Regions from separate parts of the Homo sapiens genome. Here regions 1, 2, 4 and 5 are each linked to region 3. The links are contacts of gene promoters, found by promoter capture Hi-C in blood cells and fetal thymus (Javierre and others, 2016). All regions are on one chromosome and are shown on one strand. The core of a region is centred on a gene start or on the middle of the fragment in contact, and the rest is flanking DNA. Distances in the headings are between cores, read along the strand shown. Region 1 overlaps GNA14 (G protein subunit alpha 14). Region 2 overlaps VPS13A (vacuolar protein sorting 13 homolog A). Region 3 holds the start of CEP78 (centrosomal protein 78). Region 4 has its middle 26 kb from the start of GNA14. Region 5 overlaps GNA14 (G protein subunit alpha 14).

Region 1 (3,975 bases), core at 1,410-3,909, 780 kb after region 3:
ATCTAGAGTTCAAGGAGAGTCTCTGCTAGCCTTGAAGAAGGATACTGCCATGCTGTGAGAGAGCCACATGGCCAGGAACTGAGGGCAGCCTCTAGGAGCTGAGAGAGACCTTCAGGTGACAGCTGATGAGACAACAGGGACCTCAGTCCTACAGTCCTGAGGACCTGGATCCTGCCATCAGCCTGAATGAGCTTGGATGAGAGCACAGCCAGCAAACATCTTGATTTCAGCCTTGTGAGACCTTGCACAGAGAACCCAGTTATACCATTGCCTGGACTTCCGACCTACAGAAACTTTGAGATCATCAAAAGGTATTGTTTCAAGCTGCTGAGTTTGTGGCAATTTGTTACACAGCAATAGAAAACTAATGCAAACCATATGGCTGGAATCCACAGCCTTTGAATAGATTCAGAAATAAAATCCAGAACATCTAGGGCATTTCCCAAACTAAACATTCATGGGAGATGCTAATATATGTGTCACATTAAAAGCAAAACAACTTTTTTCGTTGACCCTGACTGTTCGCATTAGAAAGGCCTTTGCTCTACTGGTGGGGCAGAGAGTCAGGTTTCTGGGTTGTAAGCAACAGAAATAAACTGACTCACATTTGCAGAAGAGAGTTTATGGAAAGGCTATAGTGAGGTCATGGAATCAAGGAGCAGGCTAAAGAAACAGTCTCAGAATGGACAGGAACCTGAAAACTCCAGGGGTCTCACTTCCAAAAAAAAAAAAAAAAAAAATCCTGATGGCCAGTTGCCACCAAAATAAAAGAATTTCATCTGTTCCTTTTCCCCGTCCCCACTATTATCAGATAACTCCCCTCAAGGTTCAACAGCTCAGCAAAGTCTGAGTGGCCTGGCACTTAGCCACAGGAGAGCAGGAGACCTGAATTAACAGGTGTGCCAAGATGCACACAGCGAGCGAAAGGTTATCCTCCCAAGCTCAGTTGTAACCCGAAGGAGAGAGAATGGATAATGGGCCACCCAAAAACAAAGGGGGTTCACAGAAGTAGATCAGACTGACAAGTTTAGGGGTAGAATCTGAGACTTCCTCCTTTATGTCTTAGTGTTAGAGGAAAGGGGAAGTCACTTTTGTAAGAAACGGTGAAGACTTTGGAACCACCAAATCCAAAGCTTCAGGAGAAGTAGAAAGAGGGGAGCCGGGGGTGTGGGGTGGAACTACGCAGGTAGTGGAAGGCTGGGCAATGCGGTTCTTCCTTGTGAAATCCAAGATTTTGAAGAGATCGGATGCTGCACGGAGCGGGCGAGGAGCCTGAGCTTTGTGCCTGTGCAAATGAGAAGAGATACTGAATCATGAAGCTTTCACTTCTGAGCATTAGCAGAAACTGCAGCAAGACTTCTGACTTTTACAAGCTATGGAATCGGCTGGAGTCTGAGCAGTTTTATCCTGTGAGAAAATGGATCCCCAGTTGCCATTGAACTATATGTATTTGGCAAGTAGTGTATCGTAAAGCTGCTCTTTGGAAACTCATAATAAAACTAGCATATCAAAAGCTCTGTGCTGTGTTCGGGCCTCCCCACTCCATGTTGCTGTATTTGTTGTGGTGGCTGCAGGCTTATGATTGCTCAGGTTTGCTCAGTTCCATAAATTCTCACTAAATGCTGCATTTGTTGAAGGAATCCTGTTGTAGCTTCAGGGCTGTTCTTGCTGTTGTTTTTAAGCCATACACATGTGGATTATCTTTCTAAGTGACTGAATGGTTAAGAGTTTGGTGCGCATAGTTACACATTTTCATGAACTGTTGCATTTTGTTAATGCATATTGCTCCTTGACTTCATTGTATTTTGTCAGTATTTATTGAATGTAAAGATTTTCAGGTAAGATTCATTTATTCATTCAAAGAATATTGATGTGCGAACCACCATTCTAGGCACGTGGGAGTACATTAATGAAGAAAAGAGACTAATATCTGTCTTAGTCTATTCAGGCTGCTATAACAGAATACCTTAGGCTGGGTAATTTATAAAGAGTAGCGTTTACTGCTCACAGTTCTGGGGATTGGGAAGTCTGCAGAAGTCTAAGATGAAGGCACTAGCAGATGTGCTGTCTGGTGAGAGTCTGCTCCTCAGAGATGGCATCTTCTTGGTGTCTTCGCATGGCGGAAGGGACACACAAGCTCCCTCAGGCCTCTTTTTATTTTTATTTTTTATTTTTTCAGGAACAGGGTCTTGCTCTGTCACCCAGGCTAGAGTGCAGTGGTGCAATCATGGCTCACTGTAACCTCGAACTCTTGGGCTGACGCCATCCTCCTGCCTCAGCCTCTCAAGTAGCTGGGACTGCAGGTACACACACCACCCGGCTGGTTACTTGTTTGTTTATTTGTTTTTAGGGATGAGGGAATGTCGCTATGTTGTCCAGGCTGGTCTTGAACTCCTGGCGTCAAGCAGTCCTCCTGCCTCAGCCTCCTGTGTCCTTGGGCTTACAGGCATGAACCAATGTGCCCAGCTCAGACCTCTTTTAAAAGGGCACAAAGTCATTCATGAGGACTCCACCTTCATGACCTAGTCCCCACTCAGAAGCCCCACTCCTTAATACCTCCACGTTGGGGATGAGAGTTCAACGTATGGATTTTGGAGAGACACAAACTTTCAGACCACAGCAGATCCCTGCCCTAAGGGGTACATGTACCACACAGACACACACACAAACACAAACACACACACCGCACACATATACATACACACACATACACATACACACCACACACACACATACACATGCACATACACACACACACACACACACACTTGTGTGCAGTTCTGCAGTTAACTAGAAAACTTGGGTAACTTTTTCAGACTTTGTCCTAAACTAATTTGATCAAGGAACTTTTTTTTAAGGATATGTACCACGTTTTGTAGAGTAGTGTTTTGTTTAATGTACCACTCTGGAAAATGCTTATAAAGGCATCGCTGGACTGAATGTACTTCAGGAAAATCATCCATAGATACCATTTGTTTCAAAATTTGGTAAGAGTTAGGCGGCAGAGAGACTAAATTCTCCACCAAGATCTGGAGTGCAGATATTCTTTGTTGCTACTTAAAGGCAAATCTGTCTGCCTCACACGTCACATGAGTAGGGGTGACTTTGGTGAATCCTAAGGCTGTACTGGAGCTTGTCACTTGGCTACACGTCTATCTCAGACCTGCTGACAGGACCAGTGTATTTCTACGGGGTTCTGGATCAAGCAGTCCAGCCTCTTACTGGATCGTGTCTCTCAAGTCAGCCTCTGTGGAGTTATATCCGCTTCCCCTGGGATGCGGTGTGAGACCAGCACATAGTGAGCATGGACATCACTAGATTGAGTGAAATGTTCCTGGGCTGTGGGGACTTCACGAGACCACATCTAATTTTTGCACAAATATCTGTCACTCACCACCTACCTGTGCTCGTCTGGTTGCTCGGTTGGGATTTTTTGACAGGAAATAGGAGACTTGGTTAAATGTCTGTGTAACTTTGAGATGCTTGAGGAGAGAGACACTTTGCACTGACCCCAACAGGTTTCCTTATGCACCTGATTACAACAAAGAATCTCGGGTTCTTGCTTGGGAGAGTGGCTGAGCAGCTTTGCTGCACGTTGGCTTGTCCACCCAAGCTGGAAAAACCTGTGGTCCAGAGTCCCAGGGTGACTAATGAACATGTGTGTGACAAGGGAGAAAAAAGTTTGGGGCAATATTATCTTTTGGGGATAACTGCCTTTGAGGCTGTCTTCCTGGTTATTTTGAGGATGTGTGATTCACAGAAGAGAGACGGACCTACACATTGGTCATCCTCAAGATTTTCAGGGCCATCCTAGAATAGCCTCACCCTGGATCCCAGGAACAGACCTCTTTATCAATAGTGGCATTCCTTTACATCCTCAGCTAAGTATAGTTACAATGATTGCTTTAGAGCACTCTAAAAAGAGTGACTACAGTGGCTGTGTTTGCCTTTATACTTTGAAAAAAGAATGTCCAC
Region 2 (3,942 bases), core at 806-3,305, 820 kb after region 3:
AGAACTGGGAACTTTTGAGTAACAAACTGAACACCGGAGGTATGACGGCATAACAGGAAATGTTGGGATTTTCCAACATGTTCTATTTTAATTATACTTCTGATTATTTGATATCTCATTATACCAATCTCACAGGGTTTCTTGTTACAAGGACTTCATTAGAAGGAATACATTATTAACATATCAGAGTAACACTAAATGAATAGTTCAATGACAGACAGGGATTTTCTATCATAGCAGTGTGATATCTATCATCATAGCAGGTGTTAAACTATAATATAAATTAATTTGTATTTGTATAAAGTAATAAAAACTTTAAAAATATACCCATATCAACCTAAAAAATTGAAGTTATATTTCTTGTATAGCTTTTTGGGTAACCAAAATAATTTTTTTTTTGAAAATGCCATAATGCTTTAAAAAAAGAACTAATCTGTAATTCTAAAGTAAAAAATTTTTTAAATGACATGGAAAAATTTACAAAAGAGGAAATATAAAGTAGAAAAAGGTTTCAATAAAAGAAACATGAGTGAGGTTTGTAATAGAGTAGGATTCTGCATCTTCTCAATGTGCTGGCCTTGCTTTTTGGATAGTCCTGAAACAAATACTACTTTAGACCAATTATGACAGTGGGAGAAAAGTTTGCTGTAACAGCCAGAGTGGCCAAAAATTGACAGTACAGATTACAAGAATCAAAATTTTAACCGACAAATCCTAGCTTGATTAGGTTGCCATTAACAATAAGGTATAATTTCAAAAGTATACTTCAAAGGACTAAGGAGGGTGAATGGGTTTCCTTTTAGAGTTGCGCTATACTGAAAAGCACCAAAAAAAATCAGATTGACTAAGTCTGTATTGAGTCCTGCATACAGAATGTAAGTTATTTACATTTTCTACTTGGATCTTAAAGAAATGAGGAAATCCACTGTTTTTAGTAAAAAGTCATTGATATTTGCATAGCACCCCCCAGACACTGAATATTTTGGCCCTACCAGAATGTGCCCTACGTATTAGCTCCCCATTTTTAAAGGCCTTTGCCACCTGTATGGTGAATCAGCCAAAAGGTAGATGGTGCAGATTCAACGGACTCAAAAGGACAATGTATGTCCCCAGTTCTATTATAGTAAAATGCTTAGTGGTAAAGAGGTTAAAATACATCTAGGTAAACAAAAGACTATGGCCTTTTTTGGGTGCTGTGTGTGGATCTAATTTTTCTATGCTTTTTCTGGTCCCACTGAATCATGTGAGGTTGCCCGATACACAGCAGAGAAGAAAAATATTTTAGAAACCAAGAGTGATTCCATCTTCTCACTCAAAAGAAGAAGTGCTAAGCATCTCTAGACTTCCTGAGTTGTGGATCTGCTGCTCCTTATCTAAGGTCAGGCTCCACACAATCCAGACTCTTCCAACAATCACTGGATGGCCGGTGCCTCCTGCAGCAGTCTTTCAAGCTTTCTTTTTTTAAATTGCATTTCATAACAGGAAACACTTTATATTGTGACCCAGTATACACAGTAAATAGAATATTTAGCTGAAACAGTATTTCAGGAACCAATACTTAACCATTTTATATGCTCTATTGTTCCTCTATTTTTTATTATTTCACGTTTAAAATATACTGGTCTTGAGCTGTTAAGTTGATTTCATGACCCACTAATGAGTTAGGACTTACAGTGTGGAAAAACAGCATCCCTGAGGATTTGGGTTGATCCTGACAAAAGGTAACAAGCAATGCCCTGGAAGCCGAAAAGATTCCTCTGAACTGTGTTGGCTGAGCCATGAAAGCATCCACTGTCAATGTATTTGGTACACACTTTGAGCTTCTACAGGCAAACTAATCAAGTATTTTGTCCCAATCTTTTTAATACAGAGGCCTACATGAGGGGGCACTTGGCATAGCCTGAAGGATCAACTAATACTGGCAAGTGATAACTGAATAATTTAGGTGCAGGAAATTCAGCACTGTGTAGAGTCCTTTTAATTTAATCTTTCTTTTTACCAGAGAGTAATACGATGCTACTATGTGGGATGTTTCTAAGAGATGAGCTAGGTGCATAGATATTCAATGGAACAATATTACCGCTATTACTATTGGAAGAAATGAGAGAGATAATTATGATAGAAAATATCACGTAAGTAAGTGTAAGAAAGATTTATTCACTTGGAGGCCACAGGATAGTTGCCTCCAAATGGACTAGGATTGTGGAGGAGAGGGGTAGGTAAGAACTGTCTACAGGTGGTAATGATTGTTTAGGGTCCAGATAACAACAACTCAGCCACACTAAACTGACCTTGGGATTTTTGTGAACACTAAAGGAAAAGCAGCAAATATGTATACTCTAAAAGGGAAGACACTGGAGAACTGTATGTGCCTTTTGGCTCAGAGAGTATTTTGCAAATGTGAAGAAATCACAAGCTGCTTTTGATCACAAGTACCAGAAATCAAAGTCACTCTTTCTGATTATGATTTTCTGGTGGAGAGTTGGCAGGGAACAGGCACTCTGCCTTAGTCCTCACACAATTATCATAGACCAGAAGACATGCTGTGCTGGAATTAAGGGCCTAGTAATATAGTTAGTTAGCAAATAATACATGGAAGGGGCACAAGACTCAACACCTCTCATTCCATAGCCACTACCAAACAACTAAGACAAGCTTAAATTTCTCCAGCAGAGAGCCATTTCTTGTAGTTAAATGTAATTTAGGGCAGATGGTTTTCAAATACAAGAAGATTCTTATTCTAACCTTCAAGAAAAATGGGCTACAGAATCAAACAAAAACTGTAAATTGTAAAATGTGATGCTAAAAACACTGACTCATTATCTAGTGATCTACTGATTTCTTAGTGTTTTTGTTTAGATGAAGACAATCTTCTAAAACAACAAATGATATGATGTAGCTCTTAAAACTGTGGGTCCCTCTAGTCTAGAGACAAGGAAGTGATGGGAGGAGGTGATGAGTAAACGAGTGGCAGGGAAAGGAGAGATTTCACGGTTCTTATGGCAAGGGAACAGGAAAGACAGGCACTATCCTTTCCATGTGGATTAGTCACAAGACCCACTCCTGCTGGCTGCCAGAGGGCACCAGAAGAATTTCTATGTTTACTATTTATGTAAGGCTTTTCTACTTCACGACACTACACCCAGGGAGGCAGGGGACTGTAATTTTTCTGAGAATGGTGAAATCATAACATTGGGTAATGAAGTATTTCGTTTTGGATGAGGACAGTCTGATGCAAGCTTTCTGACTACCTCTACTGTTAAGTTTAATTCTGACAAAAGCAAAACTGGAGGAGCTTAGCGACAGAGAAAATAAGCACTTTTTTTTTTTTTTAAACAAAGGTCAACATGGAAACACACTTTCATGTGATTTTAAACTTGTGGTTTGATTCAATTTAAGTTCAGCAAAGAAAAAAGCATTTTGGGGGAAACTACTGAGAATAAACAATGTGTTTTAGTAATCAGAGAGAAATCAATAGCATTTAGTAGATTTGGTCAGCAAGAAATACAATTACAATATAGCATGCTGTTTATTTTAGCTTTTACAACAAAGCGAGGGTTTAAGGAGCCTGAGAAGAATTTCACAACTATTGACTATACAGAGTCTTCAATTCCAAAAACAGTTAATAGTAACTTGGTGGCACATACAACATGCATTGAATACTCTGTATTATTCAGTAACTAAATAGGATCCTGCATCATTCTCTTCACAGTTCACAATCATACATTCATTCTCTTTTACCTGAAACAGTCCATTAATATTAAGGTGCAAAGATCTTGGACAAAAACCAAGAAAGAAAACCTCATGTCCTTATTTTTACTAATGTATAGCTGATGATTTCTGTGATGAGCTGTAAATTTAAAAGCGTGACTCTCATTTGAATAACTGTAGAGTAAGCAAACCAGAAATTCTCAATCTATTGGCAACGGGACAGGTTATTGG
Region 3 (3,979 bases), core at 156-2,655:
GAAGCTGCCTCCATTATGTAGAAAATGCTAAGTGCTCAAAGGAATAACAGCATTTTGTCATATATCATAGTTGACCTAACATATTTTCCGAATAATCAGAGAGTCTGGATCCCTAATTATACCACTATACATTTACAAATGGCTTGTATTTGTAAAGCACTTTACAAACTTCTTATATACACCTTAAAAAATGAAGACAGGCCGGGCGCGGTGGCTCATGCCTGTAATCCCAGCACTTTGGAAGGCCGAAGCGGGCGGATCACCTGAGGTCAGGAGTTCGAGACCAGCCTGGCTAACATGGTGAAACCCCATCTCTACTAAAAATACAAAAATTAGCCGGGCATGGTGGCGCGCGCCTGTAATCCCAGCTACTCGGGAGGTTGAGGCAGGAGAATCACTTGAACCCGGGAGGCGGAGGTTGCAGTGAGCCGAGATCTTGCCACTGCATTCCAGCCTGGGCGACAGAGTGAAACAGTGTCTCAAAAAAAAAAAAAAAAAAAAAAAAAAAAAGACAAAGGCTGACATGTATTAATTTCCTACCTGCTTAGTTCTCTATCAGGCAAATCAAAGTCATTCAATAAAATAGGTAACATCTGTCAAATGTTTAATGATGTCCCAAACTGTGCTAAGAGCTCTGCAGGCATCAGCAGCGCAGGGAATCCTTGCGAAGGCGCACATAACCTGGGTCTCGTTATTAAGCCCATGTTACGGATGAGCACACTGAAGCCCTAGAGACCTTAAGCCACTCACCTAGCTCGTGAGTGTCCAGGCCGCACACCCCTTCTATTGCACACATACCCCGACAATGGACACCACTCACCTAAAAACCCACTTCGCCGCACCGACTGAGGGGCCCTGGAGGCGGGAACTACAAACCTGTGTCCCCCAGCCAGGGCTGGAAGAAGCTCTTGATGGAGACCAAGGGCAGGTCTTTATTGATCTTGAGGGTGCTCAGCAGAGGCGCCCAGTCCACCCCGCGGAGGCGGTCGGCGTTGAAATCCAGCACGCCCTCCCGGAGACAGGCGCGCACGGCGGGCAGCGGCACCGAGTTCTGCAGCGCGCACAGGTACTCGTAGTGGGAGAAGAAGTCCGCCGCGCTGTCGCGGCGCAGCTTCACGGAGTCGATCATGGCCCGAGGGCGGCCTCGGGGGATGCCCGCCGCGGAGACGCCGCCCGCGCCCACCCAAGAACGCTGAGTCGCAACCCGGCCGCTCCGGCACCCACGGCCAGGCGATAGCGGCAGCCCCGCACCGGGCTCAGGAGCGGTGATTCGGTCGGAAGACGCAAGGCCAGAGCCCCAAGCTAGGCCGGCCCCTCAACGCCCCACTCCCGCGCTGCCTCCCGCCCTGCGGCCCAAGCAGTTGGCGCCCGCCTCATAGTCCTCTGAGGCGCCGGGATTCAAGCCGGTGGGCGGTGCCGTGGAACGGTGCGCCAAGACGTCAACGTGCTCGCTGTGCGTCGGCACGCAGGTCCCGCCTCCTGAGGACGGGTGAGTTCGCTGCTACCTGAGATAGTGGTCGGGAGAGTTTGAGGGTTTGCGAAAGAGTTTACTGATCGATCCGAATAAAAGTGAAATGTGTGGTCGGGCGCGGTGGCCCACGCCTGTAATCCCAGCACTGTGTGAGGCGGGGGCGAGCGGATCACCTGGGGTCAGGAGTTCGAGACCAGCCTGGCCAACATGGCGAAACCCCGTCTCAATTAAAAATACAAACATTAGCCGGGCATGGTGGCGGGCGCCTGTAATCCCAGCTACTCGCCTGTAATCCCAGCTGAGGAAGGAAAATCGCTAGAACCCGGGAGGCGGAGGCTGCAGTGAGCCGAGATCTTGCCATTGCACTCCAGCCTGGGCGACAAGAGCGAAACTCCGTCTCAAAAAAAGAAAGAAAATAAAAAGTGAAATGTGGATGTAACAACGCACTTTTAAAAAAAGTCTAAACATCTGAGGAATGTGTCTGTGCTTGCAGTGTCCAGCCAGCACAGAGACTGCACTCAAGGGATGTGGGAACGGCTGATTGAACGTGAACTGCGGTCATTAAATCTTTTATGTCTGTGTTAATATCTACAAATAAGCCTTAATTTCTGTAGTTTCTGCATATCTCACACGGTTCCTGGCAAATTGAAGAGTGTTTCATGAATTCAGGACTTTATTGTGTTTGCTGTGAATCAGTTTGTTTTGTACTGACGATGATGTTGGCTAACTCCCTTGTAACTAGTACTTATTTGAAATAATGTCCTCGGGATTATTTTAAGCAATGTTTAAGTATGAAATCATTTCATTCTCCTAACATCTCAAGGAATATACTATTATATTCTACTTTACAAAAGGGGAAACTGAGGAACGGGGAAGTTAAGTGGAAGCTAAGTGGAAGAATCCAGATAATTGACCTCTCCTTCTATTGGTATGCAATTGCTAGAGCAATGATAGTCCTCCGGTAGAGCCTTAGACATTGTGTTTATTGCATTCCTGTTCCACCCACTGCATTCCGGATACTCCAACTTACTTCCAACACACATATGCAGGCGTCTCTAAAATTCCGGAGATATGGTCACCAATTATTTTTATGTGCGACATGCTCAAATCTTAATATAGTAAACGCTTGTATATTCATAAACCAGCTTAATAAATGAAACATTACCATTCCTGTTGAAGAGCTTTGTGTAACCACCTTCCCAATCACGACTACTCTCTGACTCTGAGATAACTGCTCTTCTGAACTTGGTATTCATCGTTGCAATGTATGTCTTTATATTTCTGCTACATATGTAAGTAAGCAGTATATAACATTCTATATTTTCTTTTCCTACTTTACTTATCGTTACCTTTACTAGGTCCATCCGTGTTGACATATAGAGATATTCATTTATTTTCCCTGTTGTTATATGGGAGTTCCATGTAGAAACATACAGTAATGTGTCTGTTTTTCTGTTGATGGTAATTTAAATTGTTTCCAACTTTACGATTTCTTTGTTGCTCTATCCATTTTCTTTCTAGTCTCCAGCATCAATTAATGTAGTGTCCATTACCTTTTTAAAGCTCCCTCCTCCCTGTTTCCCATGAAGCCACCTGATTTCTTTTTCTTTACCTCTCGAATTTCTTCTTCTCAGTCTCATTCTTTGGCTTCTCTTGCATATCCACTCTAAATATTGCTGTTCGTCAGGTTTCTACCCTCAGCTTTCACCCCTTCTGACATTTTACAGTTTCTCTGGGTGTTCTTGTCTTCTGCTCAGCCTTAACTTCCCCACTCTAGGCAGATTACTTCTAACACAGATAGATCTCTTCATCCATTAAATTGCCCCCTAGAAAGCCAAGATTTCTCACTGCCCTCAGTGTCAGATCTATGTCACGTAGCTTGACATACAAGCTCCTTCATAATTTGACTATCTCTGTTGTCTCTCTCCTTGCTACATTCTTCCTGGCATGTCTTCTCTAGATACACAGAACTGCTTGAACTTTCTGATGTCCTATTGTTGCTGTCTGGGTCTTTTCATAGGCTGCTCCTTTATTTAGTCGGCTAACTTCCATTCTTTTCCCAGCCTTGGTTTGGGGCACCTTCCCTAGAAAGCCTGTTTCTCTCTAACCCTCATCTCTCCTCCCTTGCTTGTTTAGCACCTCACTGCTGTGCTCCCTGACATCCCTGTAGCATAACACTTAGAACATCCAATGATAAACATCTTTTTAGATGGTTTTCCTTCCAGAGTCTGAAAGCCCTTTGAAGGCAAGAACCATGTCTCATTCATGCTTACATTCCCTATGCCTAGCACAGTGTTAGCACAGAGAAAGTGCTAACTAATGACTAATTGTAGGAACATTCTTCCCTATTATCCCCGCAAGCTATTGCCAGCACCCTGTAGCCACTGCCTATGAATGCAGCTCAGAGAAGTCTTCCTCATATTAATAATCATTTAACATATTCATTTAAAATTTATGTTTCCTGTGCTTACTTATTTTTAGTGTGGCAAGATTTCTTTCAAGGCTTGC
Region 4 (4,044 bases), core at 1,381-3,880, 560 kb after region 3:
TGAGGCCACCCAGCCAATAGCCAACACCAACTGTAGATGTGTGACTGAGGCTGTCTTGTGTCTTTAAGCCCAGCTGAATGCAACCATGTGAGTGAACCCAGGCAAAGTCAGCAGAGGAATCACCCAACCAAACCACAGAATCATGAGAAATAATAGTCATTTTTTTAAACCACTAAGTTTTGGGGCAATTTCTTATGTAGCAATAGTTAATTGAGACAAAAATAGAGGTGGTCATTACTTAGATGTCCCAACCTCAGTCCATGGCCAATATGGCACTACTGCGTATAAATACTAACAAAGAGAATCAGCAGTGCAAGAAGGGACAAGGCCTTGTTTTTGACAGCAGCACTAAGAAACTTTAGAGAGAAAAGCCTGGTCAGCCTTAAGAATCTGGGGATAGGCTACGTCTATCATTCTTTCAATGGGCCCATACTAGGTTTATCTAGAGCCATGGTTCTCAACTTTGCATACATATTGGGAACATCTTGAAAACACACTGAGGAAATCAGCCTGGGCTGTGGCCTGGTCATTCAGGTGTTTTAAATCTTCCCAAAATAATTTTAAAAGTGCTGCCAAGGTTGAGAACCACTAACTTAAATGCTTCTTTGACCTTTTTATATTTTCTACCAACTCATCTTTTGAGACTAAGTGACAGCCAATATGTGGGATCTCAGAGACCTTGTTGACATCTACTGACCTGCTCCTTACTCCTTCTCTGCCACTCTGAGGGTGCTGCCAAGGCTTCTTTCTTGGTCCCCACTTCTTGCTGTGAACATTGAACAAAATTTCCTTCCTTCATTATCCAAGGGCCCTGCGTGGATGCCTGTATTGATTGGCTTGAGTGTTGATCCACTTTAGGTGGCATTTAAAAAAAGGCCACGTTCACTCCATGTGGGAATTTGGTGATCAATCACACAATCAAATGAAATATGATGCCCCCTTCTGTGGCCAGTCTTGATTTTTTCGACCTTAGGCAAATCACCTCACTTTTCTTAGTTGCAGTTTCTTCACCTCTAAAATAAAAAGCACTGTATCATTCTGTAATTCCACTAGTTTCCTATATTTATCATCTGGTATCTTTTATTTGGTACTTGTTTTAGTTTCTATGATAGAAAAGAAAACAATATTAAAATGCCAATTTGCTTGGCTTTATGGGAATAGCAGACAATGAAAAGCTATTCGTATGAAAATTCTATATGGATATTAAACATATTCCTGTTTGGATTTATTGTCAACCTCAGTGAACAAGTGGCAATTTAAAATGTTTGTTCAGTGCCAGGAGAAGATATGGAAACATAATCATGTGGAAAGTTTGTTTGAAACACTCTGTTCTCAGAATCCCTCCACTGTCGATTTGCAAATAATTTCACTCCCGAAAGAGCCATGGGTCTATATTCTTATGCCTATTTATCTACATCGAAAGCAGCTTTCGTTTAGCTCATTGAAACATGTAATCCCAGGGGATAAACAACACGGTACATGTTAAGTATCTATAGTGTTTTCAAGAAGTCATGCTCACATGGAAACATACTAGAGAGTAAGTAATGAAGTGTAAGTATGAATGGTCTCTCTGGAAAGATCCACTATACTGAATAGTTTCTGATTGTCATCAAGTGGCGGAGAGCGCTGTTATTCAATGATATCAAATATTTCAAACTTCCTAGCTCCCATCCTCCCCTACCCCCCGCCCACCCCGATGCCACTCCTCAAATCTTTGGCTGAGCAACTATGCTGCAACAAACTTTTTTTTTTATTATTTATTTTTGAGACAGAGTTTCCCTCTTGTTGCCCAGGCTGGAGTGCAATGGCGTGATCTCGGCTCACTGCAACCTCCACCTCCCGGGTTCAAGCCATTCTCCAGCCTCAGCCTCCCCAGTAGCTGGAACTACAGGGGTGCGCCACCACGCCCGGCTAATTTTGTATTTTTAGTAGAGACAGGGCTTCACCATGTTGGTCAGGCTGGTCTCGAACTCCTGACCTCAAGTGATCCACCCGCCTTAGCCTCCCAAAGTGCTGAGATTATAGGCGTGAGCCACCACGCCCGGCCATAAGCTTTCTTTATTCAGTAACTAGTGAGTGGCTTGCATCTGAGAGGCTTCCCTATTGGTGGACACTGGCTGGGTCTTTCTGCCCTCTTCTGGGTCACTAAGGTAGATACTTTAAAAAAAAGATAGCTCCTGAATTTCTCTGTTCAAGTCCATTTTTTCTCCTGGCTCAGCTCACTCTCTCTCAGAGGATGCTACATTGCTATTGCTGGCAGCAGTGAGGCAAGGAAAGACTGAAGGCATGCACAGGAAACGAGCTTGTCCTCAAAAAACCGAAATGTCTGAAAATCAACACACAGAGGAATGAAAATGCTGATGCTGAAAGGGTCAAGTGGGTTTCTCAACCCTGGCAAATAACTATATAGGGTTAAAGAGTTTCTGGTGCATTTTGGCAGGGGGTTTCACTCCTTAAATGTGTTTGGTGGTTGAAGTTCAAGAAAGAATGGTTGAAACATAGTCCAAATAGTCATTGTCAAGTTTATGTAACAGGAAAAAAGGACCAGCTGAGATCCGTCTATGAAGTGTAATTGGAAATCTGCTGAGAGAGAGAGAGAGAGAGAGAGAGAACTGTATTGCCAAATATGGGGAGAGTTAAGACAGTTTTTACTTTCTGCCAAATAGTATCTGTTACATTCTGTAAATCCAAGTCTCCATTATGAAAGAAAAAAAAAAAAGAACCAGTACATTTAAATGTACACTGCAGGGGAAACTTTCCAGTGATTTCCAATTCAGCTAGTCTTTGAAGTACTGGAGAAAACTCTGAGGGTCTTCAATGTAGGCAGAGGCTGGACAAAGTGTTCAATTAAAAAAGGCCTTAGAACACAATTTTATCCAGACTGGGTACCCAGAGCCATGAGCTCAGGTGACCCACAAGTCTGCAGTCTGGCTTCCAGATGAAAACACTAGACAAGTGAACTGAGTTTTAAAAACTGGTAGGCATTGGGGTGGGGAAGGGGGTTTTATCATTCCATCCCCTTAGTCTCTAGTTACCCACAAGGAAAGCCTTTGATAAAGTAGTTGCAGCAGACACAACGAATAACTGCTTCACCAAGACATGTATTTCAGAAAACAAGACATTTCTATTTTCAGTAAGCAGTCTTTACTGTACATACAATAACTAACACATTGTCAAAGAATTAGCCATGTTTTTAAGCCCAAGCTTTTGGGATCAGATAGGTCTGAATTTGATCCCCAGCAATACAACCTCCTAGGTAGCTGTGTAATGTTGACCAAGTGCTATAATGCCTTGGAGCCTCAGTTTCTTCATCTGTAGAATGAGATAATTAATAACACTTATATAACAGTATTGTTGGGAGAATTAAATACAGTTCTCCTTCGGTGTCCTTAAGAGTTTGGTTCTAGGACTGCTCCCCCACCCCCACCCCATGGATACCAAGATCTATAGATGCCCGAGTCCCTGATATAAAATGGTGTAGTATTTTCATATCACCTATGGGCATTCTCTTGTATACTTTCAAATCATCTCTAGATTATTTATAACCCCTAATACAATGTAAATTCTCTCTAAATAGTTGTTATTCTGTTTTTTCTTTTATTTCTATTACTTTTATTGTTGTATTGTTATTTATTTTTCAAATAATTTCCATCTGCAATGGATTGAATCCATCAACGTGGAACCCTTAGATACAGAGGGCTGACTGTAATATAATGCATGTAAAGATGTTAGTGTCACGACTGGCACATTGTTGATATTAAATAAGAGTTATCTGTGTTTTCTCTTAACATGAGAAGGTAGAGTTACAAAATAGAGAACAGTAATGGTTTTTTAGAACAGTCCTATGCTTTGTGTTTTTTAGAAGAGTTTTGTTGAGGTATCATTTACATAGCATAAAATTTACTTGCTGAAAGTGCACAGTTCAGTTGTTTTTAGCATTTACTGCACTTAGCATTTACAGAGTTGTACAACCATCACCATAATCTAATCTTAGAAAATTTGATCACTCCCCAAAGAAACCCATATCTATTAAATGTCATTTCT
Region 5 (4,108 bases), core at 505-3,004, 800 kb after region 3:
AGGAAAACAGACATTTTACATTGAGAGAGTAGAGCTCAGCACAACTGACCTATTTGGGAAAGCAAGAGCGTGGCGAGAGGAGGGGAGGACATGGGAGAGAGCTGTTCTGCACCACACTGGATAAACACTGTCCAGGTTCTCCATCCATCATTCTCGCCAGCCAAGAATAGGGTCCGTGACATGCAGCATGCCAGTGGTGGGATTAGAAGTCAGGGTTTAGAGGCTACTGATGTGTCCTGTTTTTGCAAACAAGAAATACTTATTAGACATCTGCTACAATAGTAAAGGCTAATTCTACTTACATATAAGTAACACTTTATAATTCAGGTACCCCTGGAAATCATGGCTCGTTTTACAAATGAGGACACTGAGGCAGGTAACTTGTTGGGGTCCTTAAAAGTCCCAACTACACTGTTTAGAACTCAGGGTCCTGATTCCCAGGCCAGCGCACTTTCCAGTAATCCATCCTGCCTGGACCTTGTTTGAGATCCTACCTGCCTGAAGGTCCTACAGTCTCCAGGAAGAGTTTACATTCACTTTCCTGACAGGTGTGGGGAAAAGTCACATCGATTCATTCACAGTCCTTGGTTAGGATGAGCCAGGTGGATGTGTAAGATCCTCCTTTTCTCTGGCTTGCTGTTGGATAATTATAAGGATGAACAACGCACAATAAAAGTGACTTTTCAGGAGGTACCGTCTACACTTGAGATCCCAGCTACCAAGCAGATGGTTTGCTGACTCACAGCTGCTGCTGTAGCCAGCCCTGCTTGGTGATGTAACTGCTGTGGGATGCAGAAATATGGGAGGGGGAATAAGAGCCTGGGGTCCTGCTTCTCTTGCCAGGATTCACTTGTCTGCTACAACTTGCAGCCAAGGAAAGGATGCTGAGTCTCTGGGGCCAACACGGGGAAATGTTGTGGCTGCAGGCCAACCTTATCTTTTCCATTTTCTGAGGTTTGGAAAGATTTCTGGCTCATGCTAGCCTCCCATTGATTAAATGAGATAATGTATGTAGAGGCCTTGGCACATAGTACATAGCCAATAAATGGTAACCGCTGTAATAGTAATAATTACAGTAATAATGGCCTTAATTACTGTAGTAATAGAGCAATAATTATTTAATAATCATAGTAATAATAAATATGGTAATATAATAATCAGTGGTGTGGGGAGAGTAGTGCATTGGGAGGGAGGCTCCCAGTGGGAAAGAGTTGTATCAGTGATGCAAGAAAATGAAAAGCAGACTGTGTGAGAATGCGCTGTACTTGCCCTACAATTTTGCTGGCAAGCTAAAACTGCTCTAAAAAGTAAAGTCAATTATTATTAATATATTTTTTTTTTTGGAGACAGAGTCTCGCTCTGTCACCCAGGCTGGAGTGCCTTGGCACCATCTCGGCTCACTGCAACCTCCACCTTCTGGGTTCAAGCGATTCTCCTGCCTCAGCCTCCTGAGTAGCTGGGATTACAGGCACGCGCCGCCATGCCCAGCTAATTTTTGTGTTTTTAGTAGAGATGGGGTTTCACCATGTTGGCCAGGCTGGTCTTGAACTTTTGACCTTGTGATCGGCCCGCCTCGGCCTCCCAAAGTGCTGGGATTACAGGCATGAACCACCGCAGCTGGCCAGTGTTTTTTTTTTTTTTTTTTTTTTAAATGAAAGAACAAAATCCCAGACTGATGATAAGTTGTTATTGTGTTTCACTTCTCTAAAGACAAGGCGCCTCCTTATTGCCTGTACCAGGTGGACCAGTTTCTACCACCCAAACCTTGGTGTGCCATTTTTAAATGGCCTCATTGGCTATGCAGATACTCAAATGAGTCATATGTTAATGAAGAAGTAAAGTTTGCTGGTAGGATGAAAGCTCCAGTGACTCTTTATTCACCACTGGGTGTTGTTGAATGCTGGCGAAACTGGCCCAGGACATGGCTGGGCACAGAAGCTGCAGGTCTTGGGCTGCTGGTGGCTCTCTCCACGGAGCTAAGCAGCCACCTCATCTCCACTCAGCATGGCTGCAGTGGGTGTCTTGGCTGTGAGCGGCCCCTGGGAGGGTGCCCACCACGCCCCATGCCTAGTGAGAGCTCTCCAAATCCACAGACCAGGGCAAGACTTGTACCGACATTGCCAATGGGTTGGCTTCCTTTCCTTTGCCTGATGCAAGGTTCTCTTTCCTTTGAGTAGGAAAATGCCCAGATAATCAGAGAAGTGGAAGTGGACAAGGTCTCCATGCTCTCCAGGGAGCAGGTGGAGGCCATCAAGCAGCTCTGGCAAGATCCAGGCATCCAGGAGTGTTACGACAGGAGGAGGGAGTACCAGCTGTCGGACTCTGCCAAATAGTGAGTACAGAGCCCACCCTGGCCGCCCGCGGTGCTTTCAGGCAAGCTCGGCCACACTTCAAAGAAGTTTCTCGCTGAACGCTGCTGAAATGCGGTGCACAGTGGCAGCGCTACTTGCCTTTGCTTTCCCATATCCCTCCTGACCTCTTAGTGCCATCTCTCACCACCTCCTAAAGCCCTCGGTCACTCTGTGGATCGCAGACCTCTCTTCCTGCCGACACCCGCCTGCTCTTGCTGTGTTCTAAGCCTGTCGTTTTCAATGAGAGACTCAAATCAAATCTGAGGTCCCTTAAGTGGGACTGATCTCCTTAGGAGTGCTGAAATTATCTGATTTAAACAAGAAATACCCTTGCTTTTGGCTTCTACTTTCCTCCTCTCTATATCCCTCTGCCTTTCTGGTTTCCCCATCAGAAGACAGCAGGTCCAATTGCGCTAAAATCTAAAGTCAAGTTTAGAGCAGCGGGGCCGTGGACCCATCAGCTGCTGATCTGGTGCTGTCCTCTAGTGGCACAGATAGGAGGCTGCGCTCGCAGCACACACAGGAAGCTCAATCCTTTGTTTATTGGCTGCCTGCGAAGGCCTACACACTGTATTTTGGATCCATACAGCTCAATTTTTAATTCATTAATCCTTGAAGGTAAAAAGATTTCTATTTAGATGTCCCAGCATGCAAACTGTCCCATAGAGATGACAGATTTTCACTTTCTTGGGCATTTCCTGTTCACATCTGTAATCCCAGGGACTTGGGAGGCAGAGGTGGGAGGATCGCTTGAAACCAGGAATTCGAGACTAGCCTGGGCAGCAGAGCAAGACCTCGTCTCTGCAAAAATTACAAAAATTAGCTGGGCAGCTGCTCGGGAGGCTGAGGCGGGAGGATGTCTTGAGCCTAGGAGGTTGAGGTTGCAATGAGCCATGATTACACTCCTGCAGTACAGCCTGAGTGACAGAGTGAGACTCTGTCTCAAAAAAAAAGAAAATGTAAATAAATAAATAAATAATAATATCCCGGGGCAATGCCTCCTCAGTCTGGTCACCGGGTAAATAGTTTGATATGGGTCCTTCTTAAAGTGGCAATAACTCCTGCTTCTGCAGCTCAGCTCTTTCACACCTGTCCCGTATCATCTTCCATCCTCTGAGGGCTCAGAAATCCCTTCCCCAGACGTACCTCCTTCCCTTTGGGTGCCACTGTCACCCTCTGAGCAGGCATTGAGCTGGACAAGGCATTGGGCAGGAAAGAAAGCCAGAAGTGTCACCTCCTGTGGTTTCAATGGGCTTCCTTTGGTGTTTATCCCGGGCTGAGAATTGAATGTCATTAATCCAGGTTGGCACAACCAATCTAAGTACAGGAATGTTTAGATGCAAAAAAGCATCAAGGCAGGAAAATACAGAAACCCCACTGAGGTGTTAGATCAGCATAGAGAGGTGGAAGAAAGAAAGAGTGCCATGGAGGAGGGCTTGCCTTTGACAGCTCGAGGAGCCAGGAACAGGTACGACGTTCCTGAGCCATACCTGAGGTGGCCTGAGTTACCTGCCTCTGTGAAGGCCTGGGGATTGGCTAGGGCTCTTGATGTAGATCCATTTGGAAAAGATCCACCAGACCTGCTACAGAATTCAGTGTAACCCTGAAAACCATGGGGGCAAGGCCACTGACATGGACGAGGGGCGTGGCTAGGGTGGTGAGAGCTGTCACAGAGAAAACAGCCTCTCCTAAACCCAGTCGCCCAACCTTCCAAACCGGCAGGACTCAAGGCACTTGCACGTTTTCTCCATCTGGGC

Evidence for each region. The method cuts DNA at HindIII sites, captures the fragments that hold promoters and counts their contacts. A CHiCAGO score of 5 or more calls a contact.
Region 1: a contact is called between a fragment that was not itself captured here and the fragment with the promoter of CEP78 in region 3, in 13 of 17 cell types (naive CD4 T cells, total CD4 T cells, total B cells and 10 more). The highest score is 10.6, in naive CD4 T cells.
Region 2: a fragment that was not itself captured here is called in contact with the fragment with the promoter of CEP78 in region 3 in 5 of 17 cell types (M2 macrophages, monocytes, total CD4 T cells and 2 more); the score reaches 7.2 in M2 macrophages.
Region 4: a fragment that was not itself captured here is called in contact with the fragment with the promoter of CEP78 in region 3 in 1 of 17 cell types (monocytes); the score reaches 5.3 in monocytes.
Region 5: a contact is called between a fragment that was not itself captured here and the fragment with the promoter of CEP78 in region 3, in 4 of 17 cell types (fetal thymus, naive CD4 T cells, total CD4 T cells and 1 more). The highest score is 6.5, in fetal thymus.

The regions. Positions count from the first base shown.
Region 1 is chr9:77,451,343-77,455,317 of GRCh38, reverse strand. All of the region lies in intron 2 of GNA14 (G protein subunit alpha 14), which reads left to right. All of the region lies in intron 1 of GNA14-AS1 (GNA14 antisense RNA 1), which reads right to left. Among named protein-coding and RNA genes, the nearest start is that of GNA14-AS1, 5.7 kb to the right of the region's middle. The HindIII fragment of the contact is 2,676 bases long and covers 1,322-3,975 here.
Region 2 is chr9:77,416,936-77,420,877 of GRCh38, reverse strand. It overlaps VPS13A (vacuolar protein sorting 13 homolog A), which reads right to left. Exons shown (of 72, transcript NM_033305.3): 72 at 1-3,942. Among named protein-coding and RNA genes, the nearest start is that of GNA14-AS1, 29 kb to the left of the region's middle. The HindIII fragment of the contact is 1,204 bases long and covers 1,454-2,657 here.
Region 3 is chr9:78,233,501-78,237,479 of GRCh38, reverse strand. CEP78 (centrosomal protein 78) reads right to left here and starts at 1,405. Exons shown (of 17, transcript NM_001330691.3): 1 at 877-1,405. The coding sequence starts at 1,129. RefSeq lists a silencer at 1,012-1,381 and an enhancer at 1,007-1,676. The HindIII fragment of the contact is 10,697 bases long and covers 1-3,979 here.
Region 4 is chr9:77,672,652-77,676,695 of GRCh38, reverse strand. No RefSeq gene overlaps it. Among named protein-coding and RNA genes, the nearest start is that of GNA14, 26 kb to the right of the region's middle. The HindIII fragment of the contact is 1,152 bases long and covers 2,055-3,206 here.
Region 5 is chr9:77,432,592-77,436,699 of GRCh38, reverse strand. GNA14 (G protein subunit alpha 14) reads left to right here. Exons shown (of 7, transcript NM_004297.4): 3 at 2,178-2,332. Among named protein-coding and RNA genes, the nearest start is that of GNA14-AS1, 13 kb to the left of the region's middle. The HindIII fragment of the contact is 6,132 bases long and covers 1-4,108 here.